Linked DNA regions of Homo sapiens: all the other regions are linked to region 2. The links are contacts of gene promoters, found by promoter capture Hi-C in blood cells and fetal thymus (Javierre and others, 2016). All regions are on one chromosome and are shown on one strand. Each heading gives the region's core, a stretch centred on a gene start or on the middle of the fragment in contact. The rest is flanking DNA. Distances are from core to core; before and after follow the strand shown. Region 1 overlaps BTN3A3 (butyrophilin subfamily 3 member A3). Region 2 holds the start of H2BC6-AS1 (H2BC6 antisense RNA 1). Region 3 overlaps LOC285819 (a long non-coding RNA gene).

The links. The method cuts DNA at HindIII sites, captures the fragments that hold promoters and counts their contacts. A CHiCAGO score of 5 or more calls a contact.
Region 1: a contact is called between a fragment that was not itself captured here and the fragment with the promoter of H2BC6-AS1 in region 2, in 1 of 17 cell types (non-activated CD4 T cells). The highest score is 5.0, in non-activated CD4 T cells.
Region 3: a fragment that was not itself captured here is called in contact with the fragment with the promoter of H2BC6-AS1 in region 2 in 3 of 17 cell types (naive CD4 T cells, non-activated CD4 T cells and naive CD8 T cells); the score reaches 8.2 in naive CD4 T cells.

What each region holds. Positions count from the first base shown.
Region 1 is chr6:26,451,753-26,455,602 of GRCh38, reverse strand. It overlaps BTN3A3 (butyrophilin subfamily 3 member A3), which reads right to left. Exons shown (of 11, transcript NM_006994.5): 11 at 2,188-3,850. The coding sequence ends at 3,192. Among named protein-coding and RNA genes, the nearest start is that of BTN2A1, 4.3 kb to the left of the region's middle. The HindIII fragment of the contact is 3,069 bases long and covers 1-2,989 here.
Region 2 is chr6:26,171,082-26,175,141 of GRCh38, reverse strand. It overlaps H2BC6-AS1 (H2BC6 antisense RNA 1), which reads left to right and starts at 2,369. Exons shown (of 3, transcript NR_186648.1): 1 at 2,369-3,107. It also overlaps a transcript of H2BC5 not described here. RefSeq lists an enhancer at 2,403-3,295. The HindIII fragment of the contact is 22,011 bases long and covers 1-4,060 here.
Region 3 is chr6:26,474,279-26,477,877 of GRCh38, reverse strand. LOC285819 (a long non-coding RNA gene) reads left to right here. Exons shown (of 4, transcript NR_038992.1): 2 at 1-43; 3 at 397-1,726. It also overlaps a transcript of BTN2A1 not described here and the pseudogene BTN1A1P1. Among named protein-coding and RNA genes, the nearest start is that of BTN2A1, 18 kb to the right of the region's middle. RefSeq lists an enhancer at 1-937. The HindIII fragment of the contact is 640 bases long and covers 1,746-2,385 here.

The DNA of each region.
Region 1 (3,850 bases), core at 206-2,705, 280 kb before region 2:
ATGATACTGGGCTTCTAAAAGAACCAAACGTGAGAAATTTGCCTAAACTCTTTCCATCTTGTAGCCTTCTCTCTGCTCATCTGCTTTGGTCTTCTCTGCAATCCACCATTGTTTAGTCCACACCATGAATGGAGCATTTCTTCCCACAGCTCCCATGCACATCTGCTACAGGAGTAACTAGCCACATGTCACTTGGTCCTCTGGCCTAGCCTGGGTCAGGTGTCCATCCCAGACCCAGTCCATGTGGTGAGGCTGCAGGGCCATGTGATGTGGGCATGTATTGGAAGAGAAGAGGTCACTAATGCTAAATGTGGTACAGCGAGGGCAGAGAGACCTTGAAAGGCATTCACTATATTCTCAGAGGCAGAGCCCTTATAACAGACGCTGTTGATGCCCCATCCCATATTCTCTTGGCCTATCACAGTTTGCCAATAGCTGAGGCACAGTTTTCTGCAAGGATGACAACCTTTCCACCTCCAGTGAGTATCTCCCTTCTCCTTTGCCTGTGAGCTTTATCACACCCGTGATAGTTGCTTTTCTGCAGTTACATAGCCCAATCTTAAAGTGCATTAGAATTAACACTCCCAGGCCAACCTTCAACCAATTCAAGCAAAGGAGGATGGGAAGTGGAGATAAAGTCCCAGGCCCTGTAGTCCTTAGGAAGATTCTGAGCTATATCACACATTTCATATGGTTTCTTAGAGAGTCCTAAAAGGGATTCAGCCAAGTTATCCACATGGTAACTGACTCATGAGTGAACCCTTTATCCCATTTGTCATGTAATTGGCTTTTTTTCATTTCTCAATTTGTTTCTGCACTTGTGTTTCCTGGAATCACTTCCCAAATCAGTGTGGTGAGCTGAATAGTGCTCCCCGCACCCACCCTTTGAGCTATATTCACTATGAAAGTTATGAAAAGAATGTATAACACAGTAAAATGAATTTTACACAGAATTAAGGTTATGGACCTTAAAATAGAGAGATTATTCTAAATTGTCTGGGTGATCTCAGTTTAATCATAGGAGTCTTTAAAAGTAAAAGGCAGACTGAGCGTGGTGGCTCATGCCTATAATCCCAGCACTTTGGGAGACCAAGGTGGGCAGATTGCTTGAGCTCAGGAGTTTGAGACCAGCCTGGGCAACATGGCAAGACCCTGTCTCTACAAGAAAATACCCAGGCATGGTGATGTGGCTCTGTGCTCCCAGCTGCTTGAGAAGCTAAGATGGGTGGATTGCTTGAGCCCAGGGGACAATGTGGTGAGCTGAGATCACGCCACTGCACTTCAGCCTGGGTGACAGAGCGAGTCCTTGTCAAAGAAGAAAAAAAAAAAAAAAAGAAAGGAAGGAAAAAAAGGAGAAGGTAAAAGAATCAGAGAGACACAATGGAGAAAAAGACCTAGGAGATGAGCCTCAATGCGCTGTTGCTGCTTTGAAGATACAGGAAGGGAGCTAGGAGCCAGAGTGTGGCAGCCTCTAGAAGTGGGTACAGCCCTTAGCTAAAAACCAGGGAACAACTGGGACGTCAGTCCTATAAATGAAAGGAACTGATTCTGCCAATAGTCTGAATAAGCAAGGAAACAGATTCTTCCTTAGAGACTCCAGAAAGGAATCCAGCCTGCAGACACCTTGATTCTAGCCTGGTGAGATCCCTGTGGGACTTCTGACTTCTCACCTACAGAACAGTGAGATAATAAATTTGTGTTGCTTTAAGTTCATGAATTTCTGAAGCCAGGCGCGGTGGCTCATACCTGTAATCCCAGCACTTTGGGAGGCCGAGGTGGGTGGATCACAAGGTCAGTAGATCGAGACCATCCTGGACAACATGGTGAAACCTCGTCTGCACTGAAAACACAAAAAATTAGCCAGGCGTGGTGGCACGCACCTGTAGTCCCAGCTACTCGGAAGGCTGAGGCAGGAGAATCACTTCAACCTGGGAGGTGGAGGTTGCAGTGAGCTGAGATCGTGCCACTGTACTCCAGCCTGGGAGTACAGTGGCACAATCCAATCTCAAAAAAAAAAAAATGTCTATACATTTCTGGTAATTCAGATGGCAACAACAGAAAATGCATCCAATAAGGGTCTTGTGAAAATGCTGCAGTGAGGTAAACTGAGACTGTGGTGAGTACAGTGGGTGTGCAGACTACTGTGCTGAGTAGACACCACAGTCTAGAAAAAGCCAAGCTGAGGAGTAAGCATTATTAACACATTTATTGAACAACTAGAACTTGACAACCACTTGCCAAGTAGAGGGGATACAGTGGTGAGCAATAATAGTGATGATAATGAGGAGCAGTTTTCCCTAGCAGGCAGCAGTTGAAAGGAATATGGGTTTAACATCCACCAATGACCAGGAGTGGACAGACCTATTTCCAGGAGACTGAGTCCATAGTGGGATTAAAAACATCCCTGTAATTCTTTTAGCTTCCTTGATCCAAATTTCCTATATCACAGAGAATCTCTAGGGTATTTGCTCTGCCTGGAAACCTTGATTGAAGGAAGGCTGGCTCTGGCTGCACAATCACTTATCACATTTGTTGGGTGGGAACATATCTGTGCCCCATGATTTATCAAGTGTGGCCTCTAGTCTCTTTCCAAGTCACATGTCATGTTGGTACTATGAGGTTATTCTCTCAACCAAGACACTCTGCAGAGCTAATCCAAGGAGTGCTGGGTCTAAGTCTCTGATATCAGCTGGGAAAGAGTCAATAGGGATGTCAACTCCACAAGCACTTAAAATGATCTCTACCCTGCAGCTGTCCTGGGAAGGAAACCTCAGGGCTACATGTGGGCTCTTCCTGTGGGAAAAAAAATCAGGCTGGAAAAGAACAGGCAATTAGCCAGGGACTAAGGCTGAACATCTCCCAACTGCACAAATTACTGTATGAGTTATGTAAGTTACTTCATGTTGCCCTGCCTCAGCTTCCATACTTGCAAAATATGACTACCCGACAGGGTGTTGTGAGGATTAAAGGAGTGACATCCACCAAAGCTTATAACACAGCACTAAGAACATTTTAAATTCTCTGTTAATGTTAGTTATTGCTGTTTAGATCCCAGCTCTGCTGTTCACTTGTCATGTCTACTTTGTAAAGTTAATTCACCTTTCTGCACCCCAGTTTCCTTATCTGTATAAGGGGACAATAAGGTGGTACGAAACTCAAAACAACTGTCATATGGAATAATGGAATGAATATCAGTAAAGTGCTTCAGTGCGTGCCTGTAGCTTATGGTTCTGATTGGTTGTTGCAGAAGGGGAGACCTCAGCTCCAGGGTGGGCAGGGAGAAGCAGAGATGTTACTTCAGCCTGAGGCTCCCCACTTTCATTAGCTAAGCCCGGGGTCAGTGGTGTCTCCAGGGAATGATCAGGCACTAGGTCAGGATCGGGGGAACTCTCTACTTCTTTTGGTATTGGGCAAATGGTCAGGGCAGTGGGCTCCAAGGTCAAAATTCTGAAAACAGGATATAGAGGCTCAGAGAAAGAGGCGTGCGGAAAGGTGTAGATATGAGATCCATCTGTGGCATTATAGAACGAGATCTCTCCAGTCTCATAGTCCAGGAAGATCCCCACTTTCCTAGGAGGCTCAGGAAGTTTCAGGTTGGTTCTGGGCTCAGTGAGAGCCCGATACTTATTCCCATCAGTCAGGCCCATAGTCCAGTATCCGTTCTCCGGTGTCATTTTGACCCAACCTTTTTTCCTCTCCACGTTCTTACTACATACCCCAATATGCCACTCTTTTCTGTCCCCCACTTCCACCTCCCAGTAATGTCTCCCTGATGTGAAGTTTTCACAGCCAAGGACACAGTAACGCCATTCAAATCTCTCAGGGTTGTCTGGCAGATCCCGCGGCTCTT
Region 2 (4,060 bases), core at 1,120-3,619:
AAATAAGATGTAACATTCAAAACCTTATATGCACTTGACTACAGAACCACTACTATGTCAATAAATAACTGACAGAATTAGAAGGAGAATTTCAAATTTACAATTGTAGGGTAACCTTTCAATATTCTGTATGAGTGTTAGATTCTCATATTACAAGCAAAGAAAAATGCTAATGGTTTTCTAGGATTTGAACAAGACAATAAGCAAATTTGATCTATGATTACCTTCATTTGACACAGAAAACATCCCTTCTTTTTTTCAAAGCACACGTTGGACAATTTCAAAACAAATTAACCCTGGTTTCAGAAAGTTACAGAAATTAAGGAACATAACTACAAAAAGGGAGATATAAAGAATGACAAGAGAATGCTGTGTAACTTTTACAAAAAATTAAACTCAGTGGAAAATAATTTTCAAGAAAAAGAAGAAAATAGACAAGCTGACTAAACAAATTATGATTATGAAAATAAGGTAGGCAGTTAAAAAATATTTTCTACGTCCTTCCACCCAAATGCTGCCAAGTCCGGTCAGATATTCCAAGTTTTAGTGAATTTATGAGGAATAGATTATCTCTTTTTTTTTTTTTTTTTTTCTGAGATGGTTCTCGCTACGTTGCCTAGGCTGTAGCGCAGAAGCTATACACAGGCATGATGGCAGCACACTACAGTCTCCAATTCCTGGGCTCAAGTGGTCCTTCTGCTTCACCTCCTGAGTAGCTGGGACTACAGGGACGTGCCACCTCACTTGGCATGATACCTATTTCACAGAATCTGTTACTATAGAAAAACAGCTCTCCTACTCACTTTTTTCTTGTAAAATTGTATAACATTATTAGCAAAACTGGAGAATACAAATTTTAAAAAGGAAGGAAGAGAGAAAGAAGAAAAAAACAAAATTATAGTTTTGTCTCACTAATGAACATTCATTTTTGTTTTTTAGAAAAAAATGCCTATTATGAGAAAAAATGGAAACCAGGAGAAATTGCAGAGACCATGTTATTTAAATAAATAGCTGATTATATAGGGTTTATTCTAAGAATAGAAGGAAGTTTAGTATTCTAAATCTGCCAGTTTAAGAAATTAATAAAGGAAGGCCCAGAGCAGTGGCTCACGCCTGTATTCCTAGCACTTTAGGAGGCTGAGGCAGGTGGATCACTTAATGTCAGGAGTTCAAGGCCAGCCTGGCCAATGGCGGCCTATCTTCTTCTGATAATACAAAACTTAGCCAGATGTGGTGGCACGCACCTGTAGTCCCTGTTACTTGGGAAAGTGAGGCAGAAGAATCGCTTGAACCTGGGAGGTAGAGGTTGTAATGAGCTTAGATCAGGGCACTGCACTCCAGCCTGGGAGACAGAGTGAGATTCCATCTCAAAATAAAAACTAAAATAATAAAAAATAAAATAAAATAAAATAAAATAAATAAAATAAAAAAGAGATTAATAAAGAAAAAACATGATCATCTCCAAAGATACTGCGAAAGCATTTAACAAAATATAACACTCTTTAATCATAAACACTTAACAGACTACAATGAGAAGAGAACTTCATAAGGAGGAGCTACAGCGAGTATAACACTTAATGGTGCCGTTTTGGAAGGATTCCCATAGAGGCGGAAGGAAGACAAGTGTGGTGAGAAAGTACTCCTATTCAACACGGCATCACAGGGTTTGGCCAATACCATGAGATAGGAACAGGCAGTCAGAAGAGCAAGGATTCAATAGGAAAAGATGATTATCTTTGAAAATAACATAATTGTCAAGGTAAAAGTTCACAAGAATCTATAAACAATTAGATCAAATAAGAATTGGAATTAGTGGGCATAGGCCAGGCGTTGTGGCTCACGCCTGTAATCCCAGCACTTTGGGAGGCCGAGGCGGGCGGATCACGAGGTCAGGAGATCGAGACCATCCTGGCTAACACGGTGAAACCCCGTCTCTACTAAAAAATACAAAAAAACTTAGTCGGGCGTGGTGACTGTAGTCCCAGCTACTCGGGAAGCTGAGGCAGGAGAATGGCGTGAACCCGGGAGGCAGAGCTTGCAGTGAGCCGAGACTGCGCCACTGTACTCCAGCCTGGGGGACAGAGCGAGACTCCGTTTCAAAAAAAAAAAAAAAAAAATTAAAGTCATATGAAGATTAATATGTAACATCTTCTTCGACTTAAATGTTCATTTTTTTCCTTCTGACTTTAGAAGAAATTAAAATATTTTCATGAGCCTCCAAAAGAACTGCGGACCCTAGACACCGTGCCTGCTGTTTAATGGAGTACGGCACTGCGTGTACCGGAAGATGATTTTTTTAAAAAAAAACTCAATTAGGAAATAATTATTCGCACACATTCATATACATACATACATACACTGAATCCTCACACGAAGAGCCCTACAGGCGTGAGAACAGTAAGGGAGATGCAAGAAAGGTCTCCTTGGAGTTGGGAGGCGTATTTACAGCTACTAGAGAAGGGGGAAGTGCCAGCTCCCCGAGAAGAAAGCAGGAGGATGCTGAGAGACTAAAGCTGAAATTTTCTGCCTGCTTCCTCACTCTTTTCGTTGGTTTCAGCCGTCTGAAAAACCCTTGTGAGAGGAGCAAAAAGGTCAAGGGAAGATTGTTGCCTTGCTCTCAGTCTTCAAAATTTTCGATCCTCCGTTTTTTTTGTTTTGAGACGCAGTCTCGCTCTGTCGCCTAGGCTGGAGTGCAGCGGCGCGATCTCGGTCACTGCAACCTCCGCCTCCCTGGTTCTAGCGATTCTTCTGCCTCAGCCTCCTGAGTAGCTGGGACTACAGGCGCGTGCCACCACACCCGGCTAATTTTTTTGTACTTTTGATAGGGACGGGGTCTCACGGTGTTAGCCAGGATGGTCTCTATCTCCTGAACTCGTGATCCGCCCGCCTCGGCCTCCCAAAGTGCTGGGATTACAGGCGTGAGCCACCGCGCCCGGCCGGTCCTCTGTTTTTAAACTGTAAAGGACTCCAGCGGATTGTTCGAAGTCTCCGATATCCCGCGATCTGGTGGCCGCAGAAGAAAGAGGCCGAGTCGGCGGGGACTGGGAACCACCAGTTAGCGGCCTACGGGCAACCTCCCGGACGCGCGCGCCGGGCCGACGTTAAACGTACGTGACGCCCTATGCGGGAGCCGGATGGGCGTAACGGGGCGGCGGCGTAACGTGTGGCTCTGTGGTTAGGGCACGGAGGGGCGTGGCCGGACGGCCCTATGAGGGGGCCGGCGTTTTTGGCGAGGGTTGATGGGATGACCCTATGAGGGAGCCTGCGTGGAGGGGCACGACCGGCCCCAAGACTCCTTTTCATGGCCGCATAGCCGCACCGGGAGTAGGATGACCGCTGTTATTTTTCAGGACCTCTCATCTTCGGTTTGAAATTCTTTGCTTTTTTCCGGCTTTGTGTGGCTATTTAGTATTAGCATTTTAGGGCAGTTTCATTTCCTTTAAAGTAAAACTCTCCAAAGTGGTCTCCGGACCAGCAGCATCAGCATCACCTGCATAATTTAGAAGTACAAATTATCAGGTCCTACCTCAGATCTAATGCATCAGAAAAGTTTTGTGACTGCTTCAAAACATTGTTTCCCTTAATTCAGATGCTGGAGGAGACCTTTCAAATGGCAGCTTAGCATAAGCTAACCAGTTTTTAACTTCAGGTTCATTACCAAAGCCACATCAGTGCTTAGGCCTTATCCACTCAGACCTCCTTGATGCTGGAAAGTAAAGTGAAAATAGGTAGATAGATGTCTAGAAAGGGGAGGTCTTAGAAGAAAGGTTTGGATCAACAATGAAGGCAGAATTTACAATTCTCCGCAGATTTTATTAATTATAACTTTTTTTTTCAGACGTCCTGCCATCTTCTCATTCAGACTTTTCTTAGCAAAGGTAGTCCATGGCAAGTAATGAATTCCCAGTAACTAGGTCTGTAACAGAAGTAAATTCTGTTTTTATGTTTATAAACTCAAAAAGTAACATGAAGTGCAAACACCTTTAGTTCCTTCCCCTCGGTAACCTTCTTTTGATGAACCAGTGTGCAGCAAACCAGGATGAGTTGGATTTGGGTGGGA
Region 3 (3,599 bases), core at 816-3,315, 300 kb before region 2:
CTTCAACTGGAGAGAAAGACAGAAACAAAAAGTCTGACCATTGGTGAGTGTTATGGTTACAGGACTATTTTTGCTTCTAAGAAACAGAGCACTGCTGTAGGAGTTGATAGGTCTCCTCAGGGGGAGGGCTGTTTGGCCTGCTAAGGGGTCTCCATTCCCCCAGGCTCCCTCTGTCACCAGCAGCCAGAGGGTGATGTTAAGAGTTGACTGTGCCCAGGCTTGTAATGCCTCGTGAGATAATCTCACAGGAAGCTGGACTCTTGGCCATCTTCCAAAGCCCCTCTCTGTGTTCCAAGGAAGTATTAGGCTTTCTTTCTTTTTTTTTTCCCCACAACTTAAAATCTCTGTGTTCATCACTAAAAGGGTATCAGCATTTTTCATTTCCACTTATTTTAGGTCTTTGGATACCTCAGAGGTTAAATCTCAGCACCCAGAGCAGTGCCCAGCCACTAACCTGCACAAGATCGAGCCAGTTTCCATTCTATAATAAAACAGAAACAAGAGTCATTGCCAGGTTAAAGAGAAAATCAGCTGGGTACGGTGGCTCACACCTGTAATCCCAGCACTTTGGGAGGCCAATGCAGGAAGATCACTTGAGCCAACTAAGGAGTTCGAGCGAGACTCCATCTCTACAAACAATTTAAAATAATAAAGAGACAGAGAGAGAAAGAAAAAAAAATCTTGTGTAATTTAAAGTAAAAGACAAAACTAAACTTCCTCCTTTGTATAGTGGTGTGAAGAAGAAGAAGAGGAAGAAGAAAAAGAGGAAGAAGAAGAAGGAGGAAAATAAAAAGACAAAACTAACATAAAAATTTCAGGAGCTTCTTTGTAAAATGAATAGAAATTCTTCAATAGGCCTCTGGGGCTGAGATGTGAGGAGGAGGAGGAAGAAAATGAGAGTGGGAAGGACGCACTGGAGGACTGTTACTATCTGAATCCTATCGCCTACAAAACATCAACTGATCAATCAGGCACAAGAAAGTGTTCTGCTTCTTTCTGTCACCTTAGAAATAACCTGGACGTCAAACATCGGTGAAAAGAAGAGAAAAAAAGGAAAATGAAATAACCTGGAAGCTCCTGATGATTTGAGATCAGATCTTTACATACTAAGAGATGGTTGCTATATCTGGGGGCCTTGAGTGAAAGGCAGCAGTGGGAGCCCAGCACCCATTTCCAGACAACTCCACAGCCCAGAGCCCAAACTCAGCAGTTATGAGTTGAATTTATTTTGTCAAACAAAAAGAGTCAAACTCTGTAAAATATTGCAAGAGATTTATTCTCAGCCAGATATGAGTGCCCAGTGGCTTGTGACACAGCCCCGAGATCCTGTGAACATGTGCCGAAGTGGTTGGGCTCCAGCTTCTTTTTATACTTTATATTTATTGAGATGTTTTAACTCTGCAGGCCAGAGAGAGAGACCTATCTGAAACCAGCTTGGGCAGCTGGAGAAGAATGAGGGTGAGCAGACATCTGGGCAAGCCGGAGTTTGGGAAAACTGCCATCTTCGACCTTTCTGGAGCAGCAAGATACTGGTGTGAGTCTGTCAGGAGCTTCAGCCTAGCTGATGAATAGACAGGAGAGAGCGATGGGCTCTACAGACCCGCTCAGCAGTTCTTTCCAACTTGGAGTGCTCTGGTCATTTGCATCTGAATCCTGCTGTGTCTTCTCTCCAGTGGAGATTTTCAAACCAGGCTGCCATCAGCACCCACTCACCACCCTAAGTTTGGTAAATGATATATAAAGCTTCAAACTGGCCCTACAACTCAAAAGGAGACATAGGAGAAGGGAGGCGTTCATGGGTTGCATATAAATGAGCACAGTTTGAAATCACTACACTAAAAAAAAATCTTTCAACTATAATAATATGTTATTTACTTTCAGCAATGAGTCAGTCAGGAATTTAGCCCAGGAAATCAACAGAAAAATAGACTCCTCCCTCCCCTGAGATGCTGCCTGCACTGGATTCATGTAAATTTAAATATAAATTTAGATTGATGTTCTTTCACCATCCTCCCCCATTATCCTTCTCTCACTTCAATCATAAATGCTCTTCTGTTTGCATCATAAATTTTTCCCCTCAATCCAGTACATTTTTCTTTTTTCCTTGTATTTATTTTATTTTATTTTAATTTTTTAGAGATGAAGTCTCACTATGTTTCCCAGTCTGATCTTGAACTTTTGGGCTCAAGTGATCCTCCCAACTCAGCCTCTCAAAGTGCTGAAATTACAGGCGTGAGCCACTATGCCCTGCTGATCCTGTACATTTTTTGAGTTCATTGTACCAATAGTTCCTCCATTAGCTTGGTTAAACATTCACAAAACAAAACAAAATGCCCCCAAATGTGACAGCTGAGTCCTTGTAGGAAAAAATCCTTAAGTGAAGCTTAGTATCCTGGGGTTCATTGCATATTCATATATACATACTTGGGGACCCATGCACTAAAAAGACAGACTCCTTTTGTTTACAATAATTCAGCCTTTGCTGTTAAGGTGATTAAGGCAAGTAGGTGTGGGTGGAGAGATAGTGACAAAGGAAGTGAACTAGAGGAATAAAGATCAAAAGATGGGAGGAGGTCACTAGGTCACAGTTAAGCAAGGGCAAGCAGGCAGGAACCAGCCCTGTTGCACTGGTGTACTTGGTCACCTGGGCAGGGTGTTGACGGGCTGTTGTGGGGATGTTGGGGACATCTAGAAAATATGGAGTTGAAAATTTACAATATACATATGAATCTTTAAGGCACATCTCTTTTTAGAACCTTTTGGAATATGTTCCTAAACATAACCAGGAGATATTTTAGGAGTCTTTTCGTCTCCTGGCTGGGGGCAGTGGCTCATGCCTGTAATCACAGCACTTTGGGAGGCCAAGGTGGGTGGATCACTTGAGGTCAGGAGTTCAGTACCAGCCTGGCCGGCCAGCCTGGCCAACATGGTGAAACCCCGTCTCTATTAAAAATACAAAAAATTTGCCAGGTGTGGTGGCGTATGCCTGTATTCCCAGCTACTCCGGAGGCTGAGGCCAGAGAATTGCTTGGCTGGGAAGGTGGATGCTGCAGTGAGCCGAGATTGTGTCACTGCACTCCAGCCTGGGCAACAGTGAGACTCTGACAAAAAAAAAAAAAAGGAGTCTTTGCTCCTTTCTGACTGTAATTAGTTCCTAAGAACATGCAGTTGGAAGGTTTCTCTATTCAGGTTGTCCCTCTTCAGCCAAATCTCAGCCTCTTCAGGTCCTTACTCTTTGCATTCTACCCTCTCCATCCTCACCCCTTTCTCTGTGCCAGTTCCCCTCTCAGCTTTTCAGTCCCTTTTCTTCCAGGCCTTGTAGCCCTGGCTCTAAGCAATTTTCCCCACTTACTCCTTAATATTCCTATCTGAAAATCATAGCCCACAAAAAAAGGTAATCAATAGTTTTCTGTTGTTAATAAAAACTTTAGACAAATTAAATTTAGCAGGGTTTAATTTGAACAAAGAACAATTTGCAAACCATCAGAACGATCGGGCAGCCATCAGAGAGGTTCAGTGAGCTCCATTCCACAAGGGAAGTGACACACAGAAACAGCTTAATTGGTTACAGCTCAGAGTTGGCCTTATTTGAACATAGT